Regions from separate parts of the Homo sapiens genome. Here all the other regions are linked to region 1. The links are contacts of gene promoters, found by promoter capture Hi-C in blood cells and fetal thymus (Javierre and others, 2016). All regions are on one chromosome and are shown on one strand. The core of a region is centred on a gene start or on the middle of the fragment in contact, and the rest is flanking DNA. Distances in the headings are between cores, read along the strand shown. Region 1 holds the start of RBM26 (RNA binding motif protein 26). Region 2 overlaps MYCBP2 (MYC binding protein 2). Region 3 overlaps LOC107984564 (a long non-coding RNA gene). Region 4 overlaps MYCBP2 (MYC binding protein 2).

Region 1 (5,840 bases), core at 3,141-5,640:
AGGGATGTATTACAGAGAGAATAAATACTTAAGTGTGATTCTAAGTAGAGTAATGGACTGCAAAAGAAATAGAAGAAAATACAGAATCTCTTTTTGATCCGGAAATGCTGACTGTTTTTAAACAAGACTTCAAAAGCACTATTGAGAGTAGTAAGACTGTATTCAACTAGAGGAGAGAGCTGGAAAAACCTGAGGAGGAGTTCAGCACACTATAGAGAATATTCCTGGGATTGGTGCAGCTAAAAGATGAAGGCAACTTATGGTAATAAACCATAAAGAAATACAGATCTGTTAGAGGGCATATCATTCTCTTGCCTATCTAAAATATTTTCTCCTGCCTCTGCTTCCTTCCTATTTAAAACGAAGCATGTGTCTTCAATAAACATTTTTTGAGTTTCAGACACTGAGTTAAGTGCAGGACGTAGAAAGAGGAATAAACTTGAGTCCAGTCCTTAAAAGAGCTCACAAGGCCGAGAAAGATGAGAAAACTAAATAAAATGTTTTATTTTTATCTGTCCTCACAATCTCTTCCCAGTAAATGTTTTAACTCCTGTTCTACAGGTAGGGAGCTAGACCTTTGTCCAGGGTATCATTGAGGTACTGACATTTGAGCAATAAGGAAAATCATTCTGGCAAAAGGAACAGTGCTAATAAAGTCACATGGCCTTGAAAGAACATGGTGTATTGGAAAACGTTAAGCAGGCAACCTGATACTGGACATTCCAAAATGTACATGTTACTGAATAGAGAAAGTAGTCCACAGCAGCTGTTTAGTCTTCTCTTAGTAGAATTGATGATTACATCAGCTAATTGTCGCCTTTGAAGGCAGGGCCAAAGAAGATGAAGCAGGGATAAATGAAGGATAAATGTTAATGGTTAAGGAAGAGAAGCATTCTAGGAAGCAAAAATGACTAACTGTGAAGTGATAATAAGCACTGTACCATAAATTTAGAGGAGGAAGATACTGCTATCAGCCACAGTGGCCAGGAAAGGTTTCATGGAAGTGGTACGGCTTCCTTTGGTCATTCAAAAAATATAGTTAATCCTTATTACTTACAGATTCTGTATTTGTGAGTTTGCCTACTTGCTAAAATTTATTTGCAATGCCCAAATCAATACTTGGAATGCTTTTGCAGTCATCTGTCGACATGAACAGAGGCAAAAAAATTTGAGTCACCTGATGCACATGTTCCCAGCTTTGGTGAAACAAGGGGATGCTCTGCCTTCCTGTTTTAGCTCTCACACTGGAAACAAGTGTCCTTTTCATGGTCTATTTAAGGCCACATTTGTTGCATTTTTGACCTTTTTGTGATTTCACTGTTTAAAATGCCCCCCAAGTGTAGTGATGAGGCTATCTGGGTCCCTAAGTGCCAGAAGGCTCTTCTTTCTTTTTAAAGAGAAAATACATACGCCAGGTAAGCATGAGTTATAGTGCCACTGGCTGTGAGTTCAATGTTAATGAATCAACTATATTAAATAAGGTGCCTTAAAAATTTTTTTTTTTCCTACATAAGGTGCCTTTAAAAAGAAACACACATAAAACAAGGTATTTATGGGCTGGTTGACAAACATTTAATAAGAGGCTTGAAGGAACCTAATCCTGCATTTCTCCTAGGAGCAATGGTTCCATATTCACTAATTCAGCATTTGTGGCTTTTTTACAGAACCACCGTGAATAAGGATTGGCTGTATATATTAGCAGCTGTTCTTGAAGCGGGGGATTCAAAGCTATAATCCACTAAAGAACAGATAATCACATACTTGCAAAAATAAAGCTATGAGTGCTATAAAAGAAGCAATCACAGGCTGATGTCAGAAAATCTCAGAGGGACTCTCGCTTTACAGAAGGGAGGTCAAAGATGGATTTCCAAAGGCGATGCTGTATGCACTGCATTTTGACGCTTAAGTAGGAATCTATCAAATGAAAGGTAGAGAAACACATTTTGCAATGGCTCAATTTAGTGAGAGGACACACTTCTGTGGAGACAAACGTTTACTCCCTCTTGAATGCTAATTTGTCATGTTGCCTTCTGATTAACCCCAGCCCTGTGATTATTACTTTATTTACTGTCCTTAGTTTAACAACAAAGCAACCCTGATGTTATCACACAAATTACAGGCTATGATGCATATAGCATTCTTGCCTGTCTGGAGGGTTGCCTTTAAATGTCTCTATAGAGTACGTACACCCTTTCCTTATGGCATGTAAGTACTGGTCTGGGGAGTAAAAGGGCAGACATCTACCTGTCTTGCTGCCACTGAAGACCATGCTTCTGTCTGTAAGTTACCCCCAACAAAACACTCTTTACTGACCAAACTGGATTTGTCTGCTTTGTTCATTTGATTTCTCCTTTGATGTTTGGGGGGCACTTTGCATAAAGGGCCTTTTCATGGAACAACTTATTTTAAGGAACTCAAAATAGTTTAGGATGGCTGGAGCAAAGACTGAAAGGAGTTTCTAGGCAAAAAGGAAGGTGTCTGATTTATGAAAGTCCCTTTATAGGATGTTAAATAATGTGTTTTATTCTAAAGATAATGTGGAAGTTGAAGATTTTAAGCAAGAAAGTGACATGATTAGATCAAAATTTTAGAATTACTGCTATTAAAGGCAATGATGATGAGGGCAACTGAAGATGAACTGAGATGGAGGTCAGCATAAAAGGCAAAGATATTAAAAGGCTTTTGCTATTATTTAGGAAGAATAAAAGACTTTAAATAAGACAGTGACAGTGGTATGAGAGATGGATGGGCAAAGTTTGAGCAGTCAGGGAAAGAAGTAGAAGCGTTCTCTGTGGAAAATAAAGTGAACAAATGTTTGGAGAAAGGGAGGGTGAGCAAATCAGTTTATCTGGGGTATACAGTATTTGATAGAAGCTTTGGAAGGCTGAAGTGGAGAGCCAGAGTAATGGAGTAGCTGGTGATAAGGTTGAAAATATTGGTGGCGTCAGCCTGTGGCAAGGCTACAACAAACAGACTAAACAAATATAATTTTAACTTTCGGCAGTATTAAATTTATAAACAATTTTTATTGTAAAATACATATAAAACCTACCGTTTTCATTAAGTATATGGTCCACTGCATTAAGTACATTCATATTGTGCAACCCACACAACACCACTCATCTCCAGAATCTAAATCATCCTAAACTGAAACTCTATTATCCACTGAAATATAACTCCTCATTTCCCCTTCTCCTGGGCACCCTCTCCACCCCTGCTCTTGCTACCATTCCACCTTCTGTCTCTAGGAGTTTTGACTACTCTAGGTACTTAATGTAAGTGGAATCATAATATTTGTCCTTTCATGTCTGGTTTATTTCACTCAGCTAAATCACTTTAATCAACACCCTGGTTATTCAGTAGCTGGATTCTAATTTGTATTCTACTCTATATGCTGTATTTTAAAACAAATGTCTTGCTTTGTAGTTCATAATCTTTCCACCTAATCCTTAAAGACACTTCACTCTAGCAAATTATAAACTCAAGAGTTCCTAAGAACAATTTAGCCTATCGGTGTCTCTCATAAAGAGCTTTTATTGATCTACTTACTGAAAATGTCTTTAGATTGTGAATATTTTCATTCCATTACAGTTCATGGAACGTAGACCCTTTGTAAAATTCCACCTAGTATCTAAATAGAACTCAAGCAGGAATCAAACTTATTTGATCACCCAGGAAAATAGTTTATTTATTTGGGTTGCTAATATGAAGACTCTCTCTTTTGATACTATATAATTTCCCGATCTGAGATAGGGCTGAATTTGCTCTAAATAAAGAGAATTTTAAAAATAACAAAACTTATCTTTAGCTGGGGGAAAGTGCAGGCTGGAAACTACCTGAGAGACGTGAAGGTTCTCTCACCTTTCCCTTGTGGGCAGCCCTCAGTCATTAGGGCTCTACCAGCAAGTCAAGTACTGTTGGACAAGACACTAATCCTCTGGCGGTCTCATTGGGCTCCATTAGACCAGCCTGTGTTTACAAACCTCGTTCACATCACAGCATACACAGAATATGATACTGGTAGGGCACTTAGGTAAACTGAGGAGGTAGTGTGCTCGGCACCTGGAACCTACGGGCCGCCTGGTGTCGCGCACGCGGGAGTGTACGCTCTCAAAGAGCGATCCATCCGGCAGGACCGTTCCAGCTGACAGGCCACGGCCGTCTTACCGGGGACGAGCTGGGGTTCCCGCTGTTTCTGAAGTCAGCGGTCTTTTCCTCCTTGTAAGAAATAAGGTCTTTATATCATAAAGGTAAGCAAAGAATAAAAAGGCACAAAGGCCGCAAGCAACGCACACACGCAAAAATCGAACTACAGCACTCGACCCGCGCATTCTCCGCCGACCTTACGTCTCTCCCAGCAGGCTCCGGGAGCCACCGCGAGACTTCATCAATTCTCGCGAGATTTACCGGCAGCCATCTTCTTGGGGGTGCTGGGAGCCGGGAAGACCCCCTGAATCGTTCCCATTGAGCTGCCCTTCGCCTTCGCTTTCTTTACTTTTGCCTTTTCGACGTAGCCAACAAGCACCTGGTCCCGAGGCTGAGAGAAGGCTCGGGTCTAAGCGCGTGTCGCGCTTCCGGTCTGGGTAGATTTGCTGGGGAAGAGGGAAGGGGGAGGGCCCGGGCAAACCGTTGCTGTTTCAGCCCGGGCTGGGGGCCGGGGACGGGGAGCTCCTGGCACCCCGTGCACTTGTGGCCTGCGGCGGTCCTTGCAGAGCTGTTCGCCGACCGGGGCCCGCGGGAACCTGCCACCGGCGCCTCCCACCGCGGCCCACGCGGGCGGCGCGCGGAGGAGGGGGCGGGGGCAGCGGCGGCTGTAGCGGCCGCGACCTGGGCGGGCGGAGGAGTGTGACGGGCCTTAGGGCCGCTGTGGATGGTTTCTAAAATGATCATTGAAAACTTCGAGGCACTCAAGTCCTGGCTCAGCAAGACTCTCGAGCCCATGTGAGTATCCGGGGGATATCTCTTTGCAGGGATGGCAGTGGGAGATAGGCGGACCCAGAGATCTGTGCAGTTTCCCCAAGTGCCTGCGGTGGAGGCCGAAGCGGTGAACGGAGGTCCCAGGGTTCTGTGGCTTCTCCTCCTCGTCCACCTCGCTTCCAGATTCAGGATACCCCCGAGAGCCTGAGTCGAGCTTTATTTTATTGCTGAGCTGCTCTCGTTTTCCCGTTATATATAGACCGTCTCCAACCCCCACCCGCAATATTTTCCGGGGGCCTCAAAATCGGTTTATTTTAGTGAAACCGACTGTATTTTACTTCCTACAGATTATTTTACCTTGTTTTTCTAAATGAAGTAGACGGCCTTTATTGGGGATTCGGGCAGTTCTAGCTTAAATCACTCACGTTTCACCTAAATATAATTCCTGAAAGCAAGGCCACGTCTCCCATGTGCTGTCTGGCTCATCTGCACCTCTCTTCACTGATTGAAGATGTAACAGGTGCTGAGGTGGCCAGTAAAATTCCCCTTTCCCGCCTACGCGTTCGTTAGCTTGGAGAGGAGGAAGAAAATTGAATCTTCATCCATATGGAATATTTAGCAGTTTTAAGTGGGATGCTATAGATAGATTTTGTGTTGGGGGCTGCGGTTAGAGTGCTGAAATAGTCTTAGATTGGAAAATTTAAGGAGTGTTTTGACGACTTGTTAATACAAAATATGACATGGACCAAAGTGCTTAATCAGAATTGGTTGATTTACAATAATGCAATGGGGAAAATTCACGTATTTAATAAAGTTATTAGGTACCTACTGTATACTACGGGAGGCTTTGGGGATAGAGCTTTTAAATTCTAAAATCGACAAGACATAAATAAATCCAGATATTAATAGAGTTGTGACTATTG
Region 2 (5,470 bases), core at 1,151-3,650, 2.2 Mb after region 1:
TTGCTTGTACAAGATATAAATACTTTTGAAAACAAAAGAGTAAATCTAAAGAAAATTTTGACTATTTCTTAGGCATTAACTAATATCGCAAGATTTTTTTAGTAACCTTTAGTGTTTTATACAAATGAATATTAGGGAAAATTTTAAGAAAGCTAATTGATTAATTTTCAGCAAAGCCTTAAGGTGCCATTGTCATTTGCCGTATTTATTTATTTCTTTATTTATTCATTTATTAATTTTTATTTTTGAGACAGAGTCTCACTCCATCACCTAGGCTGGAGTGCAGTGGTGTGATCTCAACTCACTGCAACCTCTGCCTCCCGGATTTAAGCGATTCTCATGCCTCAGCCTCCTGAGTAGTTGGGACTACAGTCGCATGCCACCAGGCCCGGCTAATGTTTGTATTTTTAGTAGAGATGGGGTTTTACCATGCTGACCAGGCTGGCCTTGAACTCCTGACCTCAAGTGATCCTCCTGCCTTGGCCTCTGAAAGTGCTGGGATTACAGGAATGAGCCACTGTGCCTGGCTGCCATTTGTTTTTGACCATATGAGTTTGAGTCGAAAATATAAAGCACAGTTTCATTTATAGAGAATCGTCTAGGATTTCTTCATTAGCTTATATACAAAGCCCAGACTCCTAAGGCATTGGGAGCATTGAAGGATTTCCATAACATCCAGCATCTTTTTTGACTTTCTACCACTACTCTTCTACAGCTGTCTTAATGCATTAATGAAATTAATAATGAACACCTTGTCATTTCCTGACCTCTTTTGTACTTCCATACCTCTACAGATTTTTTCATGACATTCTCCTGCTTCTTTAAATGCCCTTTATTCTTCTTTCAATTCCAGCTACAACCAATAAACATTCCTTCCACTCTGTTACCTAGTACTTTGTAACTTGTTTATATCCTTTAGAAGATGCCCTTATTTATTGTCTTTTTTCTTCTTCTAAATTAATAATGTTTGTATAGATATTATGTGACAGACTCCAAACACCTATCTGACTTAATTCATTCTAAAGGACAACTCTATGAGCAGGATATTATTTTCACCACAGTTTTCAGGTGAAGAAGCTAAGGTACTGAGAGGATAGAGTAACTTGCCCTGCGTTGCCCTGCTAGCAGGTCACAGAGCTGGGCCTTGAACCCAGGCTGCCTGACTCCAGGGCCATTTTCTTAATATGCTGCCTTTCAAAACTATTTAGCTGAATGAATGAGCTTTAAAACTAAAGTTCAGATTTTTATTTTCCAGCAAAATTTGAATGTTTTTTAATATCAGTTTAAAACATTCTAATTTTAATATGAAAGTTTTATAACATTTAAGGATATTGTAGAATTCAAGAAGAGGAGGAAGAAATGTAATTCTATCACCATAACATAAATAACTATATTTGCTTGCATTCTTGTCCAGACTTCTTAGAGTGTTTTTAATGTTGTTTGATAAGAATTTTATAATACAGTTAGTTTCATGTTTTTGTTCACAAGGGATTTTGAAAAAATAAATATATGTGACAGAGAAGTAAGAAAATATTGTTTTTGACTCACTAATTTTTTCTCAGAGAAAAATATGCAATGATGTTTGATGAGCCTGTTCTCCTGCAAGCTGGGTGGTGGTATGTGGCATGGGCCCGAGTGTCAGGACCCAGCAGTGACTGTGGATCTCATGGACAGGCATCTATTACCACAGATGATGGGTAAGTAAATGCCCAAGTGTTACTTAAGCAATACTTATTTTTGTTAGAGGAATATTGTTTTGAAAATTCAGAGTACTTTCAGCAGGATTCAAAAGCTTAGGAAGACTAGAGCATAATATAACTGCTAAAAATTAAATTCATGTAACCTCATGCCAAATTGAGGTCTAGACAGAACAAGGAGATAATAAGACCACTGTACTTTGCTCCTGTCAGATGGTATTTGTATATATTTCTGGGTATTACATTGTTTACGAGCTTGATTACCAAATTAGAAATTATATAGAGGAAGGTGACAAGGAAAATGAGGAGTTTGGAACCATAAAAAAGAAGTAGATATGTGATATTAAATTTGATAGTGCATGAGAAAACAGTTTAAAATTTCAAAGCTTCAGCAATGTGTGTTATTTTAATAAAATATAGGGAAAATTTTGCTGTTTTAAAATAACTTTCACGTATAGAGTACTTTTCAGTTCATATTCTTATATTTTATCTGATTTGATGCCCTCAATAGCTTTGTGAAGCAGTTATTAGCCCCATTTTATACTCCAGGGACTAGAGAAATAAAAAGGTGAAATTATTTGCTATTTCCTGAGAGTCATGTGGTTAAAACCAAGGTCAGACCTGTAACCTGTTGACTCTAAATCCAACATTTCAATATTCTATTACTATGATTTATGTATTCTAAAGGACTATCATTTGTAAGATAAATTCAGTTTATTCTTGATTACTCCTGAGCATAAACTATTTGAAATCAGTTGAAGTTATATAACAGTATATATTCCAGTGCAGGTCAATTCATAACAAAGCTGACCAAAAAAAGAAATAGACTTATTTGTGAGGTGAATTTCCTGTTGCTGAATATTCAAGGAGACTACTGTAGAAAAATCACATCTGTTGTTATGTGCATCAACTTAAGAATGTCTTTAGAACTAAGTGACTACTTTGACCCTGGACTGTATGATTTTCATAGACAGTTCATTCAGACTTGGAATGTCATGGCACACTGAGGCTAAAGCTTATCATGCAGCTAGTCAAGCAGATATTATACTACTTAGTTGTAAGTAGAAATTTTAGAAGTTTACTGCTGTGGTTAAAGCTGAGTTGGAGAGCTAGGAGGGACAGGACAGCTACTCATTTAGGAGTCCTAATCACGTTCAGTTCTTTCATTTTACTGACTAACCCATTCAGAGCTAGAATGAAAATCTAGAAAATACCTTTTTGCTTTTCTTTATGTAAAAGAGTGAATCATTTTCATTGACATAAGATTTGAAAACATGTTTCTTAAATTTCTTATTTCCTGTAATGATCATGTTGTTTTTGGTATCATTGTTTTCTCTTCTTAGGGTTGTTTTCCAGTTCAAGAGTTCAAAGAAATCAAATAATGGTACAGATGTTAATGCGGGTCAGATACCTCAGTTATTATACAGGTATTTAGCATATTTATACTGAATTAGTATGGTTTATTATTTTGCTATAATGAAGTAGAATCATTACAAAACGTGGCATAATAGGGAGAAATTATTTGAAGCATTCAGCAAATTATAATATGCTGGTAGAACTATAAATATATTTAACAAAAACAGTTAATATTTTGTATATTTTTAAACATTTTCCATACAGGCTTAACTTTAAACTTTGCCTGATTACTCAGATTATCTGTATTATACCAATAACAATATTTTACTGACTTTAAAAAAAATCTATCCATTGATTTTCTTACTAATTTCAAATGTTGTAAAAGAATAAAATTTGTCTTGGAGAAGTGAGATTGCAGGGAAGATGGGGAGGACTATAGATGCAGGCCTGGTTGATATATTGTAGTCTCATAAGACTGATAAAATGAGTTGGAAAATTCCCTACTGTTGGTAAATTTTCACCTTTAGCTAAAATACCAAATAATAACTTGCTCATATAATATTTACTATATTTTTAACATTATTGAAAAATTTTAACTTACAATAATTTAAGCATGTATAAAGGCATATGCCTGTGTTTACCTTATTTATTTCTAGACTACTGCAATACTTTTAGAATAAAGAATTCAAATGGATATAAACCGTTACTGAAAAATGTTGTCATTCGTTAAGCAGTAAAAAATCAAAGGAAATGGTCTAGAACTGTGATTCTATCTCCCTATCTTTCTTTCTGGTAATCACTTTGTGGTTACAAACATTATTTTTCCCCAAAAGGTTTTTTCGTTTGTTTGGTTTTTATGCACCGTGCAATCTGTTATAGTTACTGTTTGTAATATGTAGCTCTACAAACATAACGTGTTGCATTGGACTACTCCCAGGTACTCACTGGTTGAATAACTTTTAAATAACAGCATTAATAGTAGCATTACTAGAGAATATAAGTTATATGTTATATACATTATATATGTTCTCTAAGAAGAGGAAAAAGCCTCTACTACTCGGTCTTGCGAAGGTAGGATTTAAAGGAAGTGCCCATATGCTAAAAACTTTGTTTAGCTTGGAAAAATGTTTCAAAAAAGCCCTGTATTGGCATTACCTGGCAAAAAAATTTAAATATATAATTTATTTTCCCATTCAAAAATGTATAATATACTTTAAAAAGAAAAAATGACATTGGACTTTCTAACATAATTTTATATGTGTCTACTGCCTTTAGACTTCCAACCAGTGATGGCAGTGCTTCAAAAGGCAAACAGCAAACCAGTGAACCTGTACACATTTTAAAGAGGTCTTTTGCAAGAACTGTCTCAGTGGTAAGCCATGTTTTAAAAAATTTCAGCTTTTCTCTTCAGTCCTCAGATACATTTTGATGTTTAGAGTTTAGCTGCTCTTGTAAGTTTATCTTAGCCTAGATTTATAAACTCAGATTTGGTTTTGTATTCACATTTATATTCTAGACCACAGATAAAGTATACTTTAAATCATAGAAAAATGGAGGTGTTGGCCTATGATTTTAACATGACCAGATGAATTGGCCTTGCTGTTTTTGAAACAAATAACGATTTGCTTTTCTAGTAAATCATATATGAATGCATATGCTGAATGAATTAGAAAATGAAGGAAAAGTTAAGGATGGTGCTGGCCCAAAAAAGCGTGATTACTACTTGAGGAACTAGGTGGAAGAGTTGCATATCTAACTAGGAAGTTTGTTGAACCACTTGCCATCCCCATTGTACACATGAAGAAGCACAGTGCCATTGAGGTTAACAGTGCAGAATGGAAAGTCAACATGATGTAAATAAATGAAAGTATAAATTAAGGTCTTGATCTCTCATGTATTAATTGAGGATTCTTACGTATGTTACCTAAGTAAATTACATCATAGCATTTTGAATTTCTAATGAGATAAGGGGTGTAAGATGTTTTTGGAACTGTAAGGCACCATCTGAATGTGATTTATTAATATAGCTAGTAGTCTTTCATATTAGTAAAATGCATAGGAAGAATGTTTCTTTCCCTTTTAAATTTATTTTTCAACCCACCAAGTGAATATATATTCCTGGTAGGAATGAGATAAAAGTATCCTAAAAGTATATGAAAGATTTTTCTCCCATTCTCATGATCACCATATATACCTACTATTTACATTTTGGTGTGTATCTTCCCAGACCTTTTTTTTTTTTTTTTTTTGGTGAGGCAGAGTCTCGCTCTGTCGCCCAGGCTGGAGTGCAGTGGCACGATCTTGGCTCACTGCAACCTCCGCGTCCTGAGTTCAAGCAATTCTCCTGCCTCAGCCTCCTGAGTAGCTGGGATTACAGGCGCCTGCCACCACGCCCAGCTAATTTTTGTATTTTTAGT
Region 3 (6,046 bases), core at 424-2,923, 2.1 Mb after region 1:
ATTGCAATGCTACTCTAGGAATAGAAAAGCCAAACAAGGGACAGAGATATCTACAATCCCTAGGGCTGGAGACACCAAGGAGAAAACGCTGCTACCAGGGTCCACAAGCTGGGGCTGCTCAGTGAGAACTGGCTTTACGAGAGGTTACCTAATTGCAGCTGGACCATGGAAGGAGAAGCTGTTCAGCAGGAGCTGGAACCACAGAGGAGATGTTGCCTAAAGTTGGCGGGGGTGGGGTGCCGGGAGAGAGAGAGAGAGAAATTGATTCTCCTGCTGCCTACTTGCCAGTCACCCATTTTGCCCCCAGGCTGAAGCTAATTTGAAACTAGCTGGCAAGGGAAGCCTGACAAATGGAATTTGCAGGGATCCTTCCCCTGCTGTACAGAGCAGAGCAGGAGAATGGACAGGAATGGACTCAAGAGCAAATAAGCAGATTCCTGGCACACCACCCCACCAACACTGAGGTAGACTTTAGAAGTACCTGCAGGGATGCCACAGTTTTTCTCTGCAAGCAGTGTTGTCTTTGCTGCACCACAAAAATTAGTAATTAATTCAGTTCACAACAATTTGGCATCAAATAGGTAAGATTATTTTGTCTATCCAAGAAAATTCTGTCACCACAAGTTAATTTAGGAAGACTGTGAAATATTTTTTATGACTTTTATGTTCTAAAAACTTTTAAAATAGCTTCCGGTCTAGTTTGAAGGCAAACCTGATATGATATCAAAAAAGAGGCAAAATATTCTTAAGAAAAATTTTTTATGAAGAACTGGTAAATTGGCTCCTTTTTACTTTCTAAATATAAATGTAGAAATATTCATCAAAATAGGAAGCCAAACTAGGCAAGGTCAAGATTTTGATGTTAAATTCAGATTAACCTACAGAAAATGTAAATTATAGATGATTTATAGTTTTTGAATCTGGAGAGATACCATAGCTACTAGCCTTTTGAGAAGAAACTATAGTCTGTTTTGGCTGTTACATGTCGAAATGTATCCATCAGTAAAAATTCAAAACACTTATTGAATTTATGAAGGTAGGCAATGTGTTTTGTGAGTTAACAAATTATACAAGAATGGGTATTTTAGGGAAACAACTATTGTCTTTGGATTCTATTCTTCCTGTCATGTCAAGACACAGTAAATCTTTATTTGTGGACAGGACTCTTTGTTAAGAAAACAACAAGAAAACCAACTTTCAAATCCTAATCTATATAACTCAAATTGTATAACTGTTTTGTTACTTCTAGCACAAGATTAGGACATCCCTCAAATAAGGGATCATTAATATATTAACATAATATTGACAATAATAGCTATGGCCTGCTATGTAGTATGTTAAGCAAGTAAGTCATACAGATTATTTAATTTAACCCTCAAATAATCTAATGAAGTAGGTGCTATTATTATTCACTTTACTGATGAGAAGATGTAGCATGAAAGAGGTAAAAGTCTTTGAAAAAAAAGACCATGACTAATATAGTCATTTTAGAGCCATTTAGTTATATCAGGTTATCTGGATTTGGCAATAACCCTATTAAATATATTTAAAAGAAACATTAATATGACATAGTTGCTATTCTACATGAGAATTTCAATTATCCTCTTACTATTTAATTTTAGTAATAAAGATCAATCTAATATCACGCCAGTTAAAAATGGCTTATGGCCAGGCGCGGTGGCTCACGCCTCTAATCCTAGCACTTTGGGAGGCCAAGAGGGGGCGGATCACCTGAGGTCAGAAGTTTGAGACCAGCCTGGCCAACATGGTGAAACCCCGTCTCTACTAAAAATACAAAAATTAGCCAGGTGCGGCAGTGCGTGCCTGTAATCCCAGCTACTTGGCAGGCTGAGGCACAAGAATCGCTTGAACCCGGGAGGCGGAGGTTGCAGTGAGCTGAGATCATGCCACTGCAGTCCAGCCTGGGTGACAGAGTGAGACTGTCTCAAAAAACAAACAAACAACAACAAAGAAAATGGTTTCTATCCAAAAGACAGGCAATAACAAATGTTGGCGAGGATGTGGAGAAAAGGGAACACTTGAACACTGTTGGTGGGAATGTAAATAAGTACAACCACTATTAAGAACAGTTTGGAGGTTCCTCAAAAAACTTAAAATTGAGCTACCATATGACCCAGCAATCCCACTGCTGGGTATATACCCAAAGGAAAGAAAATCAGTATATAGAAGAGATGTCTGCGCTCCTGTTTGTTGCAGCACTGTTTACAATGGCCAAGATTTGGAAGCAAACTTATTGATGTAAGTGTCCATCACCCTATAAAGGGATAAAGAAAACGTGGTACACACATACACAATGGAGTACTATTCAACCATAAAAAGAATGAGATCCAGTCATTTACAATAGCATGGACTGAACTACAGATCATTATGTTAAGTGAAATAAGCCAGACACAGAAAGACAAACATCACATGTTCTCACTCGCTTGTGGGATCTAAAAATCAAAACAATTGAACTTATGGACATAGAGAGTAGGATGGTTACCAGAAGCTGGGAAGAGTCATGAGGAGTTTGGGGAGGGGAGATGGGGATGGTTAATGGGTACAAAAAAAAAAAATCAGAAAGAATGAATAAGACCTACTATTTGATAGCATAATAGGGTGACTATAGTCAATAATAACTTAATTGTGTATTTTAAAATAACTGAAAGAATGTAACTGGATTGTTTGTAACTCAAAAGATAAATGCTTGAGGGGATGGATACCTTATTCTCCATCATGTGCTTATTTCACATTGCATGCCTGTATCAAAATATCTCATGCATCCTATAAATATATACACCTTCTATGTACCCACAAAAAAATTTTAAAGTAATAACAAAATTTAAAAAAGATTAATCTAATAACTTATAAACTATACTAAAGTTTTCAAGGTTGAAATGCTATAGTTTTAAACTTTCTGTTTTTAGGACAATTATACTTTATATAACTTTCTACATCAGTTGTGAAAACATCCTCTAGGCTAAATGCATCACAACAATGAGATTTTGAAAGAATGTGATTTGCATTCAGATATATAGTATTGAATTCACATACTTAAAAAACATATACTAATATATTTTAGGATAATTTTTCACGGATGAAAATGTCAATATATGTCAATATATAACTTAGGATCCCTGGAACCTAAATTTTTGGATGTGGGAAAACTTGGACATATAATTTACATCTTTTAAAACTACCATGAATAAAAAAGAAAAACATTAACTCATCATGCTTACAAGTTACTGAATATCCCAAGGCCCTAAAAATATAGTTGTTTAAAGCATGAGGTTAAGATAGCCAGGGGATGCAATATGTAATTTATGTTTAAAATAATTTCGATAGCCATGTTGAATTTTTCCCTTCAGCTTGGAGTACTAAATATATTCTATGAAATATACTTTATTTTAAAGTGCAATATATTTGTCAAGAATGCACTATCTTATTACCCTTAAAAAGAGAAGGTCACTGAAGAGTAAAGCATGTCTTCACTCTTCAAGCCTAAGCTTTTTCTTTTTTTTTTCCCAAATTGTTCTCAGCTACCAATTTTGTTTTTAAATTCCCCAATACATTGTTGTACAAATCCAGGAAACAAACGCAGACTTTACCACAGCATTTTCAGCAGTCTCGATGTACCTAATAATATACATACTTCCTGTGTTTGTAGTCTTGTAGCTTTAGTACAATATTAACCCTTTAAATGAAACAACACTAATCTGTCCTCTTATATACACGTTATGGTTCCTGCCCTGTTATTTACTACATCAGCACGGGTAGCTTCCTTTAAAAACAAAATCGTTAAAGATGAGAGTAGGAAAAATGTAAATGTGATAAGAGTTCAAAAAACTGTGGTCCAGGTTTGCAATGTTAAGTGGAAAAGAACGACTAAATCTGTGATCACAAGGGGAAAGATGAAGCCATAGTCTTATTACATGGGCACAGGACAGAGAGATCTCTTTTGCGAAATGAGCATACCAACCACAAAGAATAAAACATACTACGCCCGTAATAAAATGGGCACAGGCAGGATTTGCCGTAGTTCAATGCTATTCTTTGAGGGCGAATGTGTCGTGGGTGAACTGCTGTCTAGCCCATTCCGACACCCAAGCCGCCCAGGCGGCCCCCACGCCCCCCGGCTGCAGCCCTCCCTGTACACACAAATGCACACACGCCCAGCCCGGCCGCTGGAGGAACTAAGATGGCAGCGCAGAAAGCACGGGGGCCGAGCTCGGTGGGGTGGGGAAAGAAAAGCAAAGCCCTCTGTGTTTTTTCATTCTGTATAGGTCCCCCTCTTTCCCCAAACACAAGGGCTGCGTAAGGCATTCGGTAGTAGAGCTCGCAGGAGCGGCGGGAGGGGACGCTTGCTTTGCATACTGCCAGAAACCCACGTCTCCGATCTGCAGCGACGGTTCAGGCGACCCTCGCGACTTGTGACCACACTCTCCTTCACGTCCCCTTGACAGTAGAAGTAAGGGTGACTCCAAATGCCTTTTTCTTTCTGGCATGCGCCCCACTCCCCCGCCATCCCAGGGGAGCCTTCCAAGTTGCCCAGCTGCCAAGGCGGTAGCTGTGGCAGTTGCAGGGACCGGGGAGCGCGCCGTGCGGAGGCAGGAAGAGGAGGAGGAGGAGAAAAAACGCTGCACTGGCTATCAATTTTGAGGAGAGCGACCGCTGCCGCTGCCGTGGAAGGAAACGCTGCCAACCGCAACAGAAATGCCACTCTCGGATACCTAAGTGAGCATGTGTGCGACTCTGCGCACGCCTAGTTGCGCAGCTCAATGACATCGGGCTTCTTAGCAAGTTATCCAGTTTCCGGGTTTTGAGTGTACCCATCAGGCTCCGTAGGGGCCTGTCTGGGACTGAACAGCAGTAAAGATTGAAGCGAAATTAATGAATGGTGGGAAGAGCCCGGAGACCAGGGCAGCCACGCGGGTCAATGTCCACTAGAAACTCTAAATGGGCAGTGACTGCACATTCCACCACCTGAGCCTGCGCTGTAAATGTTTTCTGTGCAAGCAACATTCATTCATTCAGCCAACATCTATTTCCCTCCTGTTCAGGGCTAGACCCTGTGCTAGGAGCCTGTGATGGTTGAACAGACACCATTGCTACCCTACGGAAAACCTAGTGTTTTGTTTAGTATGTGCTACCATTTGTGAAAATTCATGTGCCAAGTTGGACATCCTAGATCCTTTAAGTCCTCCCTCAATCTCATGTAGTGGGTATTCTTTTGAGCATTATTCAGAGGAGATAATTTGCCCAAAGCCAGACAAGTATTAAGTAGCAGAGTCAGGATCCAATTCCAGGGCTGTCTGATTTCAGAGCCTTTTAGCTACCCTGCTAGGTCTTGCAATAGTAATGGGCCCTCTCATTGCTTACCTGTCAGGCCTTAGAATTCTTAGAATTTAGCTGCCTCTACACCATTGTCTTGGTTCTCACTCCAGGGTTAGGGGCTGCCTGGTCAACACTGAGGTCTTTAACTGTGCTGAAGCATTAGGATAGAAATTTAGTCTAATAAATACTTACTGGATACCTACTACATGCAAAGTCCTGAAGTGGCTGAAGGAGACACAAAAGCAGCAAGCTCTGAAGGAACTTAGGTAAGGAAACAAGACAAATACAAAAACTTAACAGGGCTAATTACAGTACTAAAATACTATGATTCCACATGTCTTGTCCTTTGTTCCTATGTTTATCCCACTGCTAATTATCTTTAAAAAAACTAAATGAAATCCATCCATTATTTAAAGCTTCAGAAAAAAATGCATTGCTTTCAGCAACCTTCCACCCTAAAACTAGAATTAATTTACTTTCCTATTCCTTGTTGTTTGCACTTCTCAAACACTAAGGAGGATTTTTTAACATTTATTTTATTTTTTTTTAAGAGAAGGCCATCCGAAGAAGAGGCACAGATATAAGAACTAGTACATAGATGAAAGATACAGTACTGGGATGACAGAACTTATAAATTATTTTGTCAGGACTGTAAATTAGGAAACTCTTCAAATTGAGAGTCAAAGGATAAAACGTAGTAGGAATCAAAGTG
Region 4 (6,295 bases), core at 705-3,204, 2.2 Mb after region 1:
GAATGTTTTGGTCCTTGTTCCATTGAGTGGTAACTGAAAGACTGATTACATGAAGTGTGGGCAGAGCTACAACGGATAATGCAGTAGTCATACCTATATACTGTGCCTAGTGGATTAGATATTCATCAAGACCGCTTCAGTCTTAAGCACTCAGTTACCCTGTCTGTCTGGACTTTTGTGGAACTTGGAAAGTAGCAACCAAGAACTCTGTTATTAATTCAGAAAGGAGTTGATTATGTCTATAGAGGAACAATCTTGGGAGGAACAAAGCTTCTATAGCATATGTATTAACTACAACAAAGCAAAACATTTACAGATAGTTGAAATAAAGGGTTACAGTTGGAGAATATGTTTGAAAAGTCTCTAGTAATCAAGAGCTGTTAACTGGAATTTACTATATAGCACACATTAATAATGTGTTGTTTAAGATCAATATTGTGGTATGCATGATAATGAAGATGGAAAAGTGTTATTGATATTCTCTTTATTTAATGTGTTATATTGCCAGAATGACTGAGTTCAGTCTCTAGGTTGGGTCCTGATTCTGTCACTTGGTAGCTATATGATCTTGGCCAGGTTACTTAATCTTCTTGTGTCTCAGTTTCTCAAGTTTAAATATCCATAATCTGATGATACTTTCTTCTTCTGTGATGCAGCCCTACTTTATTTCCCTTTGACTTTATGCCCCACAGCCCTCTACTTTTTTACTCTTTTTTCACCCTTTTTTTAACTTTATTTCCTACTCAAGTTAAAGACTGTTGCTTAATTTCTTCACCTATACTCTTACCAGTTTCTTCAGTTTTCCCACTCTCTTGGTCGTGGTGCTAGGACATGATAAAACCGCAAACATGAATCAATCTTAATATTTCCTATGCCTATACTTAGGCTTCTGGAAGGTAAGAAATCACCATACCTATGCAGATTGATACTTAATTTCCAGATTCAACCAGTTCCTGTACAATGGTCATTAATCCTCCTGTTGTGTAGTATTGAACTATTTGACTTAATACCTTTTGAGAGTTTGATGAAAGACATGGGGTCTCTATGAAAAATACAAGAATATACACTTAAAAATTTGCTTGCAAATTTAGGAGATCTTTTGAAGCTCACTCATGGACTTCCTAGAAGTCCTTTATATCTGAGTTGAAAACTCCTGCTCTCGGTATGTATCTATTCCATCTACCACCACACCTTTTCTCGAATCTTCAAACTCTCCACTCACCTGTTTCCTCCTTTTAGCATAGGATCTCCATGTACATTGCAACAGATGTAAGAAATTATTCAGCCCACCAACCCTGCAAACCTACTTCCATCCATACCACTTCTCTGCTTCTTTCCTCATGTTACAGTTAAAGAGGAACCTGTTGTGTCCTTGCTATGAAACCTAGCTGTCTTTTCCTTAGAGATCTATTTCTGTTTCCTGTCTTCTCTCTAACCTTTGTCTTTAGCGTCTTTATTTTGAGTCACCTTTTAAACTTCCTCAAATCTCTTATCATTAAAAAAAAAAAATCCTCTCCTTCAGCTTCATTTTTCCTTTAGCTGCTGGCTCTCCTTTCTTTTTCCCTTTAGTGCTGGGATACTTAGAGCTACTTTGTGTATTCTCTGACTCCTTATCTGCTGCATTGTGGTGCCTGCTTCCACCAAAGAGACCTCCTTCTGCTAAATCGAGTGGTTAGGTGTATGTCTCCTTAGAGCATTTGGCATGTACTTTATTTTCCACGCTTGAAACCTACTCCTCCAATGAGTCTCCTTGAGTTCTTTCTTTCTGTGTGGTTTATTCTAGATGTCTGTGAGCTGTTCTTCCTCGGTCTGTATCTAAAATGTTAGAAGAGACTCATAAGGGAAATTAGGATCTCTTCTTTTCTCTCTCAAAGAGTCTTCCTAGATCTCATTCATTCTCATAGCTTAAGTGAATATTACCACTATCTACTCTGTTGCTTAAGCAAAAAAAATCTTCCTTGCCCCATATCGATCATCTGCCAAGTTTCATCAATTCTGTTCCTTACATAGCTATCAAAGTCACCATCTCTTTCACTCTGCACTGCTCCTAGTTAAGGCCTTCATCATAAATTACCCAAACTACTATATAATTTTTAAAATTTAAAGTGTCATAATTACATTTCTCAAAAGCAGAGCTCTCCTGCTATGTGTGGACTATTTCTATAATGGTTGTGTTTCTAATTACAGATAATGGTTACTAAAAATGGCTGTTAAAAGTAGGAAAGGATACTAGGATGTCATTTATCATAATAGTTACTGTTCATTAAGTGTTAACTGTGTGCCAGACGCTGATCCAAGTACTTGACACGTATGGGCCTCTTTACTGTTCACAGGAACTCTGTGGGGGTAGACACCGTTTGTTAGTATTCTCCATGTGATAAAGAGGAAACTGAAATACAAAAAGAATGAAAAACTTGTTCGAAGTCTGGTCGCATTATTATTAAGTTGGGGAGCCAGGATTCACAACCAGCCAGTCTAGCTTTAAAGCCTGAGCTTGTAGTCACTGCTCTAATGCCTCTCATGATACTGTGTTTTGACTCATTAACTGTGATTCTAAGATCTAAACTTATAGCTTAGTGATAAAAGTTAGAAAAGATGATCATAAAATTATTTCATCTAGTTCCTGGATTGAATTTCTGTTAAGGCATTACATGATTTTTATTTCATCCAATAATTATTTATAAAGATCTCTAACAGGCCAGTCAGTATACAGAGTACCAGATTAAAAATAAATGTAGCACCAGTTTTTCAGAAATTATTATGTGTCTATAATTAGGGTAATTACATTTAGAAGATCTTTTTGATGATCTCCTTAAAGTCAGCAACTGTCTTTTTCATCTTTGTTTACCTAGTACCTGGAATGGAGATAGGCGTTTAGCACTTAAATGTTTACTGAATATTCTTATGAGTGCCTTTTATCTTTCCTACTCCTTGTTGCATTGCTTACTTATTGTTTTTATTTTAGTTGAGTTTTGTAAGAAATTGACTTACTTTTTTTTTTTTTAACCTAGGGGATGTCCCACTCTTGTTCAAGCATTGCCAGGCCCTAGCACACAAGTCACTGCAGGCAGCAACCATACGGCAGTACTTTTAATGGATGGACAGGTCTTCACATTTGGAAGTTTTTCTGTAAGGAATTTTTAAAACATTAATAATATTGCATTATACCATTGCCTTATAATTTGTCTATATTAGCTCTTTTTTCTGTTTCCAGAATATAATATAACAATTATATTATAATTGTTACATATGCATATTTCATGCCTTCATCCCCAACACACACTAAACCTGAATGATATTCTTTGAAGTAATTTTCCTCTCTAGCTCAGCATTAGAATTTATTGAATTTAACAGCTTTGTTAGAATTGGACATGTTTATTTCAGATTAAAGTCTTTTAAGCATTCAATAGAGCTAATTCTGTCATAGGAAAGGTTATTTCTCATCTAACTTGTAGAGATGAATTTTTCTTAACACATAGAACTATGCTATTTTGTAACCTTTTAAAAGCCTAGTTTTTTTTATTTGATTTGTTTAAAATTATACTTTCTTTTTTCCTTTTCCACCCTCTGAGTCTATCCGCCTGTCTGTTACATAGGCGCTTGTGCACATTCTCTCCCTCTCTCTGCACCAAAGCTTAAAGAGTGAAAATGCTCTAAGAATTTTGTGTAGTTTGGGCATAGTAGATATCAAGAAAAATCTTTGCGAGACTGTGCTAATACTCTTGTACCATTTCAGATGTGGATAATTACTAAGAACTCTTGAACCTAAGTGTCTGAGATGACATTTACAGCTTTTGATTTTTTAAAAACTGTAAATGTGTACTTAAAATATTTTATTTGAAAATGGTTTCAAACTTACAGAAAGATTGCACAACTAAGAACAGTGTGTAGAATATCTGGTTAGTGTCTTTAACCAGATTCACCTATTGTTAACATTTTGATCCAGCATTTGCTTTATTATTGCACATGTGGCTGTTCTCTTTCTCACACACGCAGTGTGTGTGTATGCACAAATGTGTGTGTGTACGTATGTATATAAAATATTTTTTTTTCTCAAATCCTTTGACAATGTCTTGTGTACATTATGGCCCGTTACCTCCTACATACTTTAGTTTGTATTTTGTGAATTGACCTAATAATTATTTTTTGGCATTTCTTTCCCCTCCAATCTAGGATCAGGCATTACATTTGCCTGTTGTGTGTCTTTAGTCTCCTTTAATCTGTAACATTTCTACAGCTATGTATTGTCTATTATAACATTGACATTTTTGAAGAGTATATAGTACTGTTTTGAAAAATAGAATCCTCTTCATTTTTGTTTCTTTGATAATGTCCTCATGTTTAGATGCAGGTTGTGCACCCAGGCCAAGATACTCTGTAAGTTATGTTGTGTTTGCCCTCACTGCATCACATCTGAAGGCTCAGAATGTCCATCTGCTCTTCATTGATTATGGACATTTTGATCACCTGATCAAATGTCTGATTTCTGTACTGTTTCTCCTTTGAAACTATAAGCAACCTGTAGGTTGACACTTTTAAGATGCCTGCTTCTCATCAAAATTTCCCCCTAGATTTAGCATCCATTGATCATTCTTTCCTGAGCTAGTCTTTACTATAATGTTTAAAAAATGGTGATTTTTTTCAACTCCAGTAGGCACTTGGCCTTTTACTCTAAGCAAGAGCCCTCCTTTCCTGTTTACTTGTTTTTCTACTTATTATTGGTATAGACTCAGGTATTTGTATTTTCTTCATTATCATCTTTAATTATTTGGGTGCCTAGATTATCTCCGATTTGGCCAGCAGTAGCCCCTTCAAGTTGGCTCCTGTATTCTTGTGACATGCCCCTTCATTTTTTGGAGTGCTTCCTTTCTTTCCAGCATAACAAGTTGTTCAGGGTTTATCTTGTACAGGCCCTGTATGACTGTCCTAGAATCAGCCATTTCTCCAAGAACCCTGATTCTTTTTAGTGGGGAATAGTATTAGACACTAACTGGGCACTAGAAGTGTTCATTGCTACAGGACGTCTTTGGATCTCTGGTATGCATATATTTATATGTCCACATATATGTATGTATTTTAGAAATCATAGGCCAGGTGTGGTGGCTCATACCTATAATCCCAGCACTTTGGCAGGCCAGTGTAGGAGGATCACTCAAGCCCAGGAGTTTGAGACCAGCCTGGACAACATAGTGAGACCCCATCTCTATTAAAAAAATTAGCTGGGTGCCGTGGCACATGCCAGTGGTCCTAGCTGCTCAGGAGGTTGAGGTAGGAGGATCACTTGAGCCCTGGAGGTCGAGGCTGTAGTGAGAGCTGTGATTCCATCATTGCCCTCTGGCCTGGACAGCAGAGCAAGATCCTGTCTCAAAAAGAAAGAAAAAGAACCCCACTGTGACTTCTACTTCCAATCCATTCCCACAAGGTTCTTTCTTACCTGTCCTGTTCTATATTTATGTACTTTCTTCCTCAGTAAGAATCTTTCCTCTCAACAATATCAATATATTTATTTCTCACTTAGTCCCCAGATATGTCTAAAATAGTTTTATATTTGCTTTGCCTGTACAAGTTCAAAAAAACAAACTCACTGAAAGGTCATTCTTGCTCTTTCCCCTCCCACCTGCTCCCCACCCCAAGTCTGAAGGTGTATAGTCAAGCACTGTCCATGAGTGGCCTGGATTCTCTCTCTCACTCCTTTCAGTGGAAATTGTGATTCCTTTGGAATAGAGTGGGGCTCATTTGTTTCAGTTTAAGATTCCCCTCACCCTATCCTTTGATTAAGTTTTATTTCATTTTTAAAATATATAGAACATTTACATGTTGCTAAAAATTAAGTTATACAAAAATTGTATACTCAAGAGGTGTCACTTCCTCCCATATCCTTGACATTCCTGCCTCCCCACACCTTTCATTCCATACTTGGAGGTAATGAATGTCATTGTTTTACAGTTTATTCTTCTTGTGTTTCTTCTTGTGAAGATATATAAGCATGCAGACACACTATTTTATATATATATACCTATATATGTATGTATGTGTATACACAGTTATGCACTGTATAACAGTATTTTGGTCAGTGATGGACTGCGTATGCTAAGGTGTTCCCATAAGATTATAATAAGTACTTTGACTATAACTTTTCTATGTTTACATGCAGAAATACTTACTAATGGGTTACAGTTGCCTACAGTATTCAGTACACCAGCATGCTGTACAGGTTGGTAGCCTAGGAGCAATAGGCTACACCATATCACCTAAGTATGTAGTAGATATACCGTCTAGGTTTGTATAAGTCCAC

The links. Contacts are between HindIII fragments. The CHiCAGO score rates a contact against its expected background, and 5 or more counts as called.
Region 2: a fragment that was not itself captured here is called in contact with the fragment with the promoter of RBM26 in region 1 in 1 of 17 cell types (total B cells); the score reaches 5.4 in total B cells.
Region 3: a contact is called between a fragment that was not itself captured here and the fragment with the promoter of RBM26 in region 1, in 6 of 17 cell types (non-activated CD4 T cells, total CD4 T cells, naive CD8 T cells and 3 more). The highest score is 13.7, in non-activated CD4 T cells.
Region 4: a contact is called between a fragment that was not itself captured here and the fragment with the promoter of RBM26 in region 1, in 1 of 17 cell types (total CD4 T cells). The highest score is 9.7, in total CD4 T cells.

Annotation. Positions count from the first base shown.
Region 1 is chr13:79,404,805-79,410,644 of GRCh38, reverse strand. RBM26 (RNA binding motif protein 26) reads left to right here and starts at 4,390. Exons shown (of 22, transcript NM_001366735.2): 1 at 4,390-4,941. The coding sequence starts at 4,871. It overlaps RBM26-AS1 (RBM26 antisense RNA 1), which reads right to left and starts at 4,336. Exons shown (of 7, transcript NR_038991.1): 1 at 4,168-4,336. RefSeq lists enhancers at 4,105-4,404, 3,734-4,725 and a silencer at 4,635-4,834. The HindIII fragment of the contact is 7,810 bases long and covers 2,877-5,840 here.
Region 2 is chr13:77,187,906-77,193,375 of GRCh38, reverse strand. MYCBP2 (MYC binding protein 2) reads left to right here. Exons shown (of 83, transcript NM_015057.5): 28 at 1,563-1,697; 29 at 3,041-3,124; 30 at 4,329-4,425. Among named protein-coding and RNA genes, the nearest start is that of MYCBP2-AS2, 110 kb to the right of the region's middle. The HindIII fragment of the contact is 629 bases long and covers 2,086-2,714 here.
Region 3 is chr13:77,328,005-77,334,050 of GRCh38, reverse strand. It overlaps LOC107984564 (a long non-coding RNA gene), which reads right to left. Exons shown (of 2, transcript XR_001749930.2): 2 at 5,853-6,046. Among named protein-coding and RNA genes, the nearest start is that of MYCBP2, 3.9 kb to the right of the region's middle. RefSeq lists an enhancer at 4,377-4,456. The HindIII fragment of the contact is 3,671 bases long and covers 1-3,508 here.
Region 4 is chr13:77,214,674-77,220,968 of GRCh38, reverse strand. MYCBP2 (MYC binding protein 2) reads left to right here. Exons shown (of 83, transcript NM_015057.5): 21 at 3,012-3,129. Among named protein-coding and RNA genes, the nearest start is that of MYCBP2, 110 kb to the left of the region's middle. The HindIII fragment of the contact is 3,364 bases long and covers 273-3,636 here.